Linked DNA regions of Homo sapiens: region 1 is linked to region 2. Evidence: promoter capture Hi-C in human tissues and cell types (Jung and others, 2019). All regions are on one chromosome and are shown on one strand. Each heading gives the region's core, a stretch centred on a gene start or on the middle of the fragment in contact. The rest is flanking DNA. Distances are from core to core; before and after follow the strand shown. Region 1 overlaps GPR161 (G protein-coupled receptor 161). Region 2 holds the start of GPR161 (G protein-coupled receptor 161).

The links. Contacts are between HindIII fragments. The study calls those that stand out against the background at their distance.
Region 1: a fragment that was not itself captured here is called in contact with the fragment with the promoter of GPR161 in region 2 in 1 of the 25 tissues and cell types used here (adrenal gland).

Annotation. Positions count from the first base shown.
Region 1 is chr1:168,099,176-168,105,330 of GRCh38, reverse strand. GPR161 (G protein-coupled receptor 161) reads left to right here. Exons shown (of 6, transcript NM_001375883.1): 2 at 437-854. The coding sequence starts at 481. Among named protein-coding and RNA genes, the nearest start is that of GPR161, 35 kb to the left of the region's middle. The HindIII fragment of the contact is 8,551 bases long and covers 1-5,531 here.
Region 2 is chr1:168,132,876-168,138,835 of GRCh38, reverse strand. GPR161 (G protein-coupled receptor 161) reads left to right here and starts at 1,906. Exons shown (of 6, transcript NM_001375883.1): 1 at 1,906-2,097. RefSeq lists silencers at 1,211-1,505, 2,034-2,263. The HindIII fragment of the contact is 4,691 bases long and covers 1-3,455 here.

The DNA.
Region 1 (6,155 bases), core at 7-2,506, 33 kb after region 2:
TCCCATAGACCACTTGTAACAGCCCCCTGCCCCCTGCCCCAGCCTGCTTGTTTAAAATGCAGATTCCTAGGTTGTGCCTGTGATCTCTGCGCCCAGAACCTCTAGTGGTGGAGCTCAAGGATCAGCTTTCTAAACTGGCACTTCAGACGATTCTTCAGCACATTAAAGGTTTTGAACCACTGGTCTTGGGAAAATGGATAGGATGGGTTAGACCAGAGGAAGAAATTGGTCAGGGGGATGTAATGAATTTCACACATGGTTGTAGAAAATGGCCCACTTATGTAGCGCTTACGTGGGGAAGACCCGCTGAGAGTCTGTACTAGCTGGGTGATCTGAGGCGTAGCACTTAACCCCTTTAAGCCTTTCTTCCCTAAGGTGGAGACGATGTGATTTGATGAATCTTTTCCTGTCCCCTGGTCCTGCCTTATCTTTCCAGTCGTCCAGCATGCTCTGCCCACCCCACGCCGAGGTGCACTGACCATGAGCCTCAACTCCTCCCTCAGCTGCAGGAAGGAGCTGAGTAATCTCACTGAGGAGGAGGGTGGCGAAGGGGGCGTCATCATCACCCAGTTCATCGCCATCATTGTCATCACCATTTTTGTCTGCCTGGGAAACCTGGTCATCGTGGTCACCTTGTACAAGAAGTCCTACCTCCTCACCCTCAGCAACAAGTTCGTCTTCAGCCTGACTCTGTCCAACTTCCTGCTGTCCGTGTTGGTGCTGCCTTTTGTGGTGACGAGCTCCATCCGCAGGGAATGGATCTTTGGTGTAGTGTGGTGCAACTTCTCTGCCCTCCTCTACCTGCTGATCAGCTCTGCCAGCATGCTAACCCTCGGGGTCATTGCCATCGACCGGTAAGCATGCCTCAGACTTAGAGAATTGAGGGATTACTGACGGGCGCTCATCTGGTGCAGTGTCCCTCTGACTGCCTTAGTTCCCTGGAGAGTGTCAGGGGCCCTTGCTGGGGGAGGATGACCAGGTGGAGTTCTGCCTCTGGAGCCATCTCTTCAACCAAAGCACATCTCGTTTTGTCTGTGGATGTTACATACAATATTATATTTTAAAAAGAGCTTCCATCGCCTAAAATAAAACATTGTAGAAACCTCTGATTCTTGGTTTGTAGATGAAGAAGCCGAAGCCAAGGCAGGTTTCAGTTCCGGGCAGCACTGGGTCCAGGGCCTCTGACTCTGCTTCTCTTTCTCCCAGTGTGACCCCTGCTCTGTCTTGCTTTGGTGTTGACTAGTGCAGCCCGAACAGGGAACACCCTCACTGCCCACAGTCCAGGACTGAAAGGAGAGCAGGGGGAAGGAAGACAGCCAGAGAATACAGGCAGTGACACCGGGGAGAGGCCGTGTGCATTTGGAAACTCGGCTGCTCCCGCCCTCAACGTAGCTGATGCACGGGGAGGTCAGGCGCAGCTGATGTTCCTAAGCAGCATCTCGCGGGTTCTTCAGGGTCCCGCATTATGCTGTCAGATTTAGTTGTACAAGTCTTGTGGGCTTTGGCAGCGAGTTTCCCACAAATGAGTGCATTTATTAGAATTTTGCTAATGGCCACTGCGTTCATCACAGGCACAGGTTGGGCTTCATGAGGACAGGGAGGATAGATTCAAGGTCTGTGTCATTTACCAGGAATTGGGGAGGAGAGTAAGTAGTGGGGTTAGGGAAAACACAGAGTGGGGCTAGCCAGGGATATTGTCACTGGGTGACACAAGTCCCCGGGCTTTTTTGAGACTGTCAGTTTTTCAGTCGATGAGTGGTAGTGGAACTGTCCACTGGGAGCACAGACTGCACCTAGACCTGAGGCTGGAATCTGGCAGCTCTTTGTGGCTGCACTGGGGAGGCAGAACCAATGAAGCCATTGCTCAAAACAAATCAATTAGCTTCTCTTTTTTTTTTTTTTTCCCTGAGTAGTAGAGGTAATCCAGAAAATATAATGAATGAAATTAGAAACACATGATCTAACCATCAGAAACAATCACTGTTGATGTTTTTAGTATATTTGCTTCCAGTAATTTTTGGTTGTATACAGCAAATTTTTGAAATAGGCTTCTGGCTCCTATGGTTTTCTGTCCTCCTTTTTTCATTTAGGTGATGGTGAGCATTTTCTCTTATTTTCAAATATCCTTGAAGAAGGTGATTTTTCATGGTTACGAGGTATTCCATCCTGTGGAGGTATATAAATTATTTTCACAGTCCCCTGTTACTGGATTAGATGACTTCACATAGCTTGCTATTCACTATAGCATTCTGAGGAGCATGTGTGTTTGTGTAATTGCTATATTCTCAGTAACAGTAAACATGCTTTCAAGATTCTTGATATATAAAAGGCAAATGACCTTTCAGAAAGTTGTACAAATTTGTATTTCAGCAGCTGTTTGTCAATAGCCTATCAGGACTGATTATATAATTTTTTTTTAAAAAAAAGTTTGGAAGTTTGTTGGCAGTGGGGAGGAATGGGATCTTGTTGTTTTAACTTTTTTTTTTTTTTTGAATTATTAAGTTTTGAACATCCCTTTCTGGGCCCTGGGTCCCGTGGAACATGGAGTGAGGCTAAACAGCTTAGTTGCAGAGATGGAGAGCTGGTCTCTAAGTGCTCCTCTCAGAGCTGTCTCTATATGAATGCTCAGTAAACATGCCAGTCATCTGCAGGGATAGCTCCAGGAGACTGTAAGCTGCTTGCTTAAATCTGGGGTCTAGATGAGTGAGAATGAGATTTTCTACCAGCAAGCATGACAAATCCTCAAATCATGCCAGCAAAGTACTTCATCTGAGAGAGGGTTTACCTCTTTCAGGGCCTTATTTCACACTGGAAATATTGGTTGGATGTCTACTCCAGGAAAGGCCTGTGCCCAATCCTTGGAGTGGTGGGCTACAAGCATGAGCAGGACACAGACCCTGCCCACCAGGGGTTTACAGTTGAGTGGCAGAGGCTGACTTGTGGGCGCCGATTTAACACAAAAGTAGAAATAACCACCATCGACAACTCCACCAGCCACTGCTGCTGATGGGCTGGCAGTGAGTGCTTCAGGGAGAAGGTGGCATTTGAGCTAGGTTCCTAAACAGCAAGTAGGATAGCAGGTACGTAACAGGTGGAGAGGCCCCTTCTGACTGAAGGAGCAGCTTCTGTGTATTCACTTGGTAAGCAATTATTGAGCACCTATTATATGCCCAGCACAGTGGTTGGTGCTGGGAATACATAGCTGAATAAGATGAATAAACATGCTGAGGCCGAGCGTGGTGGCTCACGCCTGTAATCCCAGCACTTTGGGAGGCCGAGGTGGGTGGATCACCCAAAGTCAGGAGCTCAAGACCAGCCTGGCCAACATGGTGAAACCCCATCTCTACTAAAATACAAAAATTAGCTGGGCATGGTGGCAGGTACCTGTAATCCCAGCTACTTGGGAGGCTGAGGCAGAATCACTTGAACCCGGTAGGCAGGGGTTGCAGTGAGCCGAGATCATGCCATTGCACTCCAGCCTGGGTGACAAGAGCAAAACTCCATCTGAAAAAAAAGAAAAGAAAAGAAAAAGAAAGTAGAAGTGGAGAATAGCAAGGGCAGTGGGCGTGATTTTAACTATAAAATGTTACACGCTTGTCATATTCCAGGCACTGCACTATGTATGCCGTTTATCAACAGTTAGCTCAGCTAACCCTCATGGTAACCTTGTTAGCCCCGATTTTGCAGATGAGCAAAGTGAGGTTTTTGAGGCCTTAAGTAACTTGCCCAAGGTCACGTGGCTGGGAAGTAACTCTCCCAGTTCTGAGATGCCCGAGCCTGGACGCTTTGTCATTGTACACCATCAACTCAGTGCTGCCAGTCATTCCAGCAGCCAGCTAGCGTAGCTCAGGGTTTCTCCACCTTAGCACTGTTGACATTTCGAGCCAGATAATTCTCTGTGGTGAGGAGCTGTCCTATGCCTTGTAGGATATACAACAGCATCCTGGCCTCTACCCACCAGATGCTGGAACACCTCCCCAGTCGTGACAGCCCAAAATGTCTATAGACGTTGCCACGTATACCCAGGGGTTCCCAGCTGAGAACCTTAGCTAAAGAAACTGGCTGCATTAGGAGATATACCTAATGCTAAATGACGAGTTAATGGGTGCAGTACACCAACATGGCACCTGTATACATATGTAACAAACCTGCACATTGTCCACATGTACCCTAAAACTTAAAGTATAATAAAAATAAAATTTAAAAAAGAAAAAAAAAAAAAGAAACTGGCTGGACAGATGAACCCAAAGAGTCCATCTTGTAGCCCCATGAAAAGAGAGCAAAGACAGATATAAAAAGAATGGCTGCCTGGAGCGAAATTCACAGTTTGTCAATGTCCTAAACCAGCCAAGTGAAAGTAGGGCGTGCTGGGGACACCATTTGACCTGCCAGCGGTTCCACTGTGAACGTCCATTACTTAGAAGTCTGTAATGGTGGTCACCTCTATCATCGCTGCCAAGCTGCTGGAGTTCCAGGTCTGTGGAAATAGTTCTCATATTTTCATTCCACATCACAGAAGGTGAAACTCCAGGTCTAAAAATAGAATTTCAGTACATGAAAGTAGCTAGAACAATGGGATGGATAGGGCTAGCAAAGATGACTAGTGCTTTTAGGAGACTGTTCCATGGAAGTTAATGTGTTGCCCCTTTGTTAGGTGAAATTGGCTTAGATTCTGTTTCTGTTTTCACTGAAGACAACTTACTAAGAGCAGGGCTTGCTGTCAAAGTGGCTGGTCTTGTGGCAGGAGCCTGAAGCATCGGAAGCCCCTTCCCACATTACAACTTTTCAGTTACCTGTGACGTCATGAAAGCCTCTTTAGGGTTCAAGGGTCGTGATTGGGCTCATGTCTAAAAATGAGTTGGAGGAAAGATTGAGAGCCTCAAGACAGTTAAGAGAATAGAGAGCAAAGGAAAACCCCTCTCTTTTGGCCTGTATTATTAGCCCACATAGGAGTGGGGAGTTGCTTTTGTTGTTTTCCCTTAAATCTTCAACTAGGCTTAAATGAGGCTTCTGCTGCAAATAACGACTTTATAAATCTGTGATTGAGAACACATATACCCATTTTTTCCTGAGGAGATGCAGGACTGTTCTATATCCTTTTTTTTTTTTTTTTTTTTTTTGAGACAGGGTCTTGCTCTGTCACCCAGGCTGGAGTGCAGCAGTGGAGCAGTCATGGCTCATTGCAGCCTTGACCTCCTGGGCCCAAGTGATCCTTCTTCCACCTCAGCCTCCCAAATAGCTAAGTCTACAGGCACACACCACTATACCTGCCTAATTTTGTTTTTTATTTTTTGTAGAGATGTGGTCTCCTTATGTTGCCCAGTCTGGTCTCAAACTCCTGGCTTCAAGTAATCCTTCTATCTTGGACTCCCAAAGTGCTGAGATTACAGATGTGAGCCACTGCGCCTGGCTGGAATGTTCTGTATCTTGATAGAGGTGTAGATGCGTGCATTTCAATGTACATACATTTTATCCACACCAACCCCCCCCCCCCAAAAAAAAAACTTAAAAACAAAATAATCCCTGGAGGACGTGGCTGTACATGGGCAGGGCTGTGCCTGTGGGGCTTTTCTGCCTGTAGGAGGTGGACCTTGACTGAGCCAGCACCCAGCTTCACTGCCCCAGCTTCCTGATGGCACTCAGGATGCAGCTGGCAGAAATCAGTGTCATGTCACACTGGAACTCCCTGTGCCTGAACCTCAGTCAGTGAGTGATATGGGTACCATTTGTTACAATAAAGGAGAAGTCTTGCCATAAAGTAGTAATAATAACTGGGTGTTGAGAAGAGCCAGAAGGAAATCTGGCAGAGGACAGCACATTAATTGTAATCATTTTTATGGCCGCCAAACAGAGTCGGTGGAAGGAGGCCTACAGTGAACATTCACCAGGCCTGGCTCCCACAACCGGCCGTACACTACCGAGGTGACAGGGTGGAGCGTCTGTGTGCTCTTTAAAGGGATAGAAAAAAAGTAGAAATCTCTGCATTGTTTCTTTTGAAAAGTGAAGGAAACCTTCCTAGACCCACTGCTCCCCTCCCTGCAGTCCCCTAGCAACCCCCTCACATTTCATTTGCCAGAATGACGTCAGACAGGTCCGAGTCTCAGCAGGCCACCCACAAGGGGAAGAAGACCACCATGGGGCTTGTTCGCCCCCCA
Region 2 (5,960 bases), core at 657-3,156:
TAATAATTTGTCTGTTTTCTCTGCATCTGATTGAATTCTGCTCATAGCTCAATATTAGCTCCAGAAGGGAAAAAAATCTTAAGAGAGCAATTGAAAATGCATTTGTTGGCAGCAATTTCCATCCCTGAATGCACAGTAAGTTCTGAGCTTATGAGCTCAGAAAAAAGAAAAATCTTTGTGATAAATAATGCATTTGATAATGAGCAGCAGGAGAAAAAAAGTGTTTTCTGTTGAAGAGTTCAAAATGAAATAGAGTAAGTATGGGAAAAGGTTGCTCAGTATGAAGGACATCTTTCGCATCATGGATGGGTATGGAGCCACAACAGCCGTAACTGTTTATTTTTTATTCTCATTCTCACCATGCCAGTCTGTGGCATATATTTTCAGACCTTTCGTGAATACCAATTTTCAAAAGGGTTTAGTTCTCAGATTCTATGTCACTGGATGATTTACTTACATGACCTCATTTAACCTTTTCAACTCTACAGATAGGAAAGTATGAGTATCCCCATTTTATATATGAATAAGCTGAGAGGAAGGTTAACTCACTCCCTCAGGCTCATAGAGCTTAGCCGACATCTGAGTCAGTGTAAATTAAATAAATATCAGGGATTTCAAAATAAGTGTCTAAAATACTATTAAGAACAGAAAGCTTTAAGCTCCTTCAAGTGTCTGGCTTGCCGCGTGACCTAGACTCTTAAGTGGAGCGTCAGCTTCCAGTTTTTGACCAAATAAAGCATTTATCCCATAGGAATATTAAGGCACCCATTTACTTTTTTCTCCCCATTATCCCATTTGTCCCCAGAGCAATGTGGGTGTTTGGCAGGTGCCAGACAGTAAATTACTGTTCTAAATTGTGCCTCAGTGGCCCAATAATATTAAGGAAGCATCTCCCACAGTGTCAATCTGTAGACAAGGGAATAATTAATGTATTTATCAAAGCAGATGGATTTCAGAGGAATGTGAATCCTGCTCTAAGCACAGCATCAGGGTTTGTTTTTTTTTTTCTGGAGTTTAGTGAACTGGGCTTTGTAACTTCTTACCTGATTATTTTGCTGCCCTGTTTGTCCTTCCTTCTTTCCCTTTTTAGCAGTTCTACTCTGTGCTTCAACTTTTCATCCCCTTATTAAGACTGCTGCATAGAAAACGTAGGAGTCTGGAGACAGGCAGGCAAAGTGGGGAGTGAGGAAGGGAAAACAAACATTCTGAGAAGGAACTGTTCCGTCCCCCGAGCTGACAGCGCCCGCTCTTTGTTTTGTGATGACTGCTCCCTGGCCTTTTGGTTCCGAGGGAGTGCAGGGCAGCAGTGTGAAGACCTGTTTACGTCCACTCCCCACTCCCCGGGGCTGGCTTCGGGACGAATTCACTGTGGTATTAACAGAGCCCGGGACAGAGCCTGGCAGAAGGCAGATGGATGCTCGTGCCCGTCGGCTGGATGAATGAAAGGTGAGCAGCAAAGGCGATACCAGGATCGTCCACGGCGGGACTGGAGGAGGAGAATGGGACTGTGCGGAGCCTGCGGGAAGAATCTGAAAGTGTCTGTGTGATGGAGAGAGACATGGAAAAGGCGACGTCCCAGCGGCTGGAACTGGGGCGGAGGAACGGGAACAGGGAAGGCCTGAGTTAGGCACCACAAAGGTTTTCAGGAGAAAAGTGGGGCGAGCCGAGAGGGTAAGGGCGAGACAAAGAGCAGCAGCCGAGGCTGTTCGTGGGAAGAAATGGGAAAGAAGCAGCCGGGAGGGCGGGCGGACGGACGCGAAGGAAGGGGCGCGGGTGGGGAGGGGCGCCGGGAGCTGGGCGGGGCGGGGCAGTGCGGGGCGCGGGGAGGCGGCTCGGGGCTCCGGGGGCCGGAGGGGCCCGGCCGGGCGTGGGGGGGGCGGGGCGGGGCGCGGGCGCCGCAAAGTTACTTGGCCTGCGCCCGCCCGGGTCCGCGTGCTGGTGGCTGGCCCGCGGGAGGAGCGAAGCGGGGCTCGGTGGGCTGAAACCCGAAACCTCCAGTCCCGGAGCGCGGCGGGGAGGAAGGAAGCGGCGGCGGCGGTGGCCGAGGCGGGGAGGCGGCTGGGCCGGGGCCTGAGCTGCCGCGGCGGCCGCTCCTCGGTGAGCACCCGGCGTGGGGCGCGGGCGCGGGCCCGGGCGGAGAGGGCGGTCCGGATGGAGCCAGGCTAAACTCATTGTGCGAGGCTGAGGGCTCAGGGCGCGGGCCGGGAAGGGTCCCCGCCCCCACGGCGCTCCCTTTCTCCCCGCGCCCCTCTCGGAGGTCAGGGCTGTCCTCCGCCCGCACTGCGCCTTGCTTTGGAGAGCTGGAGCTCTTTGTGGGAAGATGTTGGGGGCGCGCCCCTCCCCTGCGGCCTGGGGCTTCTGAGAGGCCCACCCCATTCTGCTGGGTGCAGCCCGCCCCGTTTCTCCGGCGCCGCCCGAAGCCCCTAAACAGTCCGCTGGATGGGAGGGCGTAGGTGCGTGCCCGGGACTCTGCCGATGCGGGCCGCGCCCCCTGGGGCCAAGAGACTCCACGTCCCGCTCAGGGCAAAGGGTGTGGGGAGAAGCGGTCACGCCCCTCGGCTGGAATCCGTGAGGACCAGGTGAGCAGCCTTCTCCCAGCCGGGACTCAGGGCGCTGTCTCCCCGAGCCTGGGCGGGCGGCGGGTGGCGCGCCCAGAAGTGGCCCGGCGCCGCCGGATGGGCGGCTCTGCCCCTCAGATCTGCGGGAGGGAGATTCGGCTGGTTCTTGGAAAGGGGAGAACTCGACCAGCCCTCGGCGCCTTCTGGGCCAAGCTTAACCCCCGTGCAACCTTTGGACAAAGGCATATGGGATGAGAACGTCTGTTGGGTAAGTGGGGTGTGTCCTGTGCTTCCCGGAGGTCTGCTCACCAGTAACCACATAGCTGCGCATTGGCATCGCTTTATATCACATCTTGGAGGCTATTTTTGCTTGTTATTGTACTTTCATCCCTTTTGCAAAGTGCTTTCATAGAGCAGGTCATTTGATCCACCTCCCGGTGAAGCCGTGAGGAGGTGTGTGGTTTTGGAGGGAAAGAACCTCAGTTCCTTGATTGTCCAATGGAGACACCGATAACCTCCGGTGAGCCTGTCTCAGCGTCCTAGGGGCTGGGGGAGGATGGCCATCCTTGTGGCTCCTCCGTGGAGCCAGGCGTGGATTCAGCCTGGCTTCTTCTCCCCTAGTGACCTGGACCTCCAGATGAGTTCTGGAGAGCTACTGCTTCGGGGAATAGGCGGTTTTCCCTTATAATCTATTTTACTGCAGCCACTGGGAGCAAGTGAAGAGAGGCATTTTTCAGGCCCTCAGGGCAGAAAGAGGAGGTGGGAGGGACCTCAGGTCATAGAGACAGAGGCTCTTCAACTGTAACTGGAATGCATGGCACCCATTTCTGTTACTTCTTTCAGAGCACCTCTCTTCCGGTCCTCCTCCACACCCGTCTTATTTTATACTTGTCAGGTGCTTACAAGCACTTTCATGTACACTTTTTCATTCACACAACAACCTTGTGAAGCTCTACTAGCCCATTTGATAGGTGAGGAAACTGAGGCTCAGGAGAGATGAAGCATTCTTGCCCAGCTAGGTAAGCAGCCCAGATTGAACTCAGATCTTTTGCCTTGGTAGTGCTTTTCACGTGGTTTCCTGATGGCACACAGGTGAGTTCTTTAACTCAGGGCTTCTCCCTGCCCTGTAGCTCCACTGCCATAACATCAAGAATAGAGACCCCTCATTAAGAGGCCCGCTTGACATTTTGGAACTAATCCAAGGCCGCAACGATATCCGAACCGTTCTCTTTGTGTTGCAGCCTGGTGCACTGTGCGTCCTCTGAGAGGTGAAGGAGCACTGTGTGGTCAGAGGGCTGCGAGCTCTCTGTTTGGGTTCCGAGGAAGACAGAATGGGCTGAACTGGAACTGACCTAAATGTCAGCAAGAGGAGGTACAGTTCTGTGGTGTAAACTCCACTGCCAGCAGGGACCAGTCAGGAAGCCTGAGTGCAGGAGGCGGGTGGACAGGAGGGCTGGGTGGGAGCTGTGTGCTGCTAAGCCTGTCTCCAGTAAGGGGGCAGCTGCAGGTGCGGTGGGGCTCCAGCACATGGTTGCCTGATCTTAGTTTTGGGGGAAACTGTAAATTTTTACGGAAAACAAGCTTCATATATTTTTAAAGATAGCAACTGATTCAAAACATTTTTTTTAATGTGCGTGCAGTTTAACCAAATTATGTGTGCAGGCTGCTTGCGTCTTCTGTGTGAGACCTTGGGAAGCACTGACTGTCATTCTGAGATGCAGTAAAGCATGACAGCAGGGGAGAAATGGTGTCTTCTTGCTGTTTTTCTATAAGAACAAAAAACATCAACAGAACTAGAGATAGCTATCAGTGCTACCTGGAGTTTGGAGGAGGGATTGACTTTATGACTCCATACTTCATTCATTCACCCAGTACTCGTCTATGACTCTGTTTCTACACCAAGAGAAAAGGCTTACAACTAGTTTTAATCTATTTCCTTGCACATTTTATGTGCTCAGCAGGGGAGAGGATAGCATTCATGGCAAATATGTTCAGGGAGTGCTGGAGCATAAAGGAAGGAATTTGCAGTTGGCCAGGGGTAAAGCATGAGGAGGTATATTTCAATTTTATTTTAGTTTGTGTTTGTTTTATACTCAAGCAATGGGTGAGAGAACACTGTGTTAAGAGCACTATCTGAAGTCAGACAGCCTACCTCCCAGCCCTGCCCCTTATAAACTTGTGACCTTAGGTAAATAATGTAAAGCATTCATGGAATATAGTAATTTTTCAAAACTAAGAGCTGTAAATATTTTAAAACACAGTAACATATAGGAAAATAAATTAAATTCCCCTCCACCTCTTCTCTACTCCTTCTCCCCACCTTTGAGATAACCACTGTAAATGTCTGTCTTTTTAGGTCTTTTTCAGTGTGCTCAATATGGTCACCAAGCCTGGAAACATAGGTGAATATATAGTTTATTGCTATTATATAAAACATGATAAAAAAGTATTACCTACATTTCTCACTTTAGGACCAACCTGAATATATTGAATATACTTGAAAAAATACATAAATGAAGCTGGGCATGGTGGCGCACACCTGTAGTCCCAGTTACTTGATAGGCTGAGGTGGGAGGATCGCTTGAGCCTAAGAGTTCAAGTCCAGCATGGACAACATAGTAAGATCCTGTCTGTTAAAAAAAGAAAAACATAAATCGGGTCATATAATAATGCTCTGTGGTTTACTTTTCTGATTTAACAATATGACTTAGAAGTCATTCAATAACAATAACAGATACATTGTACTTCATTCTTTTTAATAATAACATAGTATTTCATAGTATCGGTTCCCTATAAATTATTTAAACATTCCCCTCTTGATGGACTCATAGATTGGCTTCCAATTTAATTTAGATTTTCTGTGTATCTTTATCTGTGTACATGTACAATATTTCTGGGTAAAAATTGTTCCTGGACGTGGGATCTGTGGGTCAAAGGAAATGTACATTTTAAGTGGTTATTTAAGCAGAATTATCTTTGTTTATTGAGGTCTGGAAGATTGTGTAGAAAAAGAGACTGAATTATTTACTGTATTTATTTAAGGTTATTTGTTTGAGAATAAGTAGTGAATTGGAAAGGTATAGCATTCAAAAGTTATAAAAGGCAACATCTCCCTCCCACTCCTCTTTCCTAGCCCTCTTTTTCCTTTTTTGGGTATAACTAATTTTACCAGTTTTTGTGCATTCTTTCAGAAATAGTCCATGCCCCTACAAGCAAATAAAATGTACCTTCTGGGCTGGGCGCAGTGGCTCACGCCTGTAATCCCAGTATTTTGGGAGGCCGAGGCAGGCAGATCATCTGAGGTCAGGAGTTCGAGACCAGCCTGACCAACATGGTGAAACCCCATCTCTACTAAAAATACAAAAATTAGCCGGGCATGGTGGTGGGCACCTGTAATCCCAG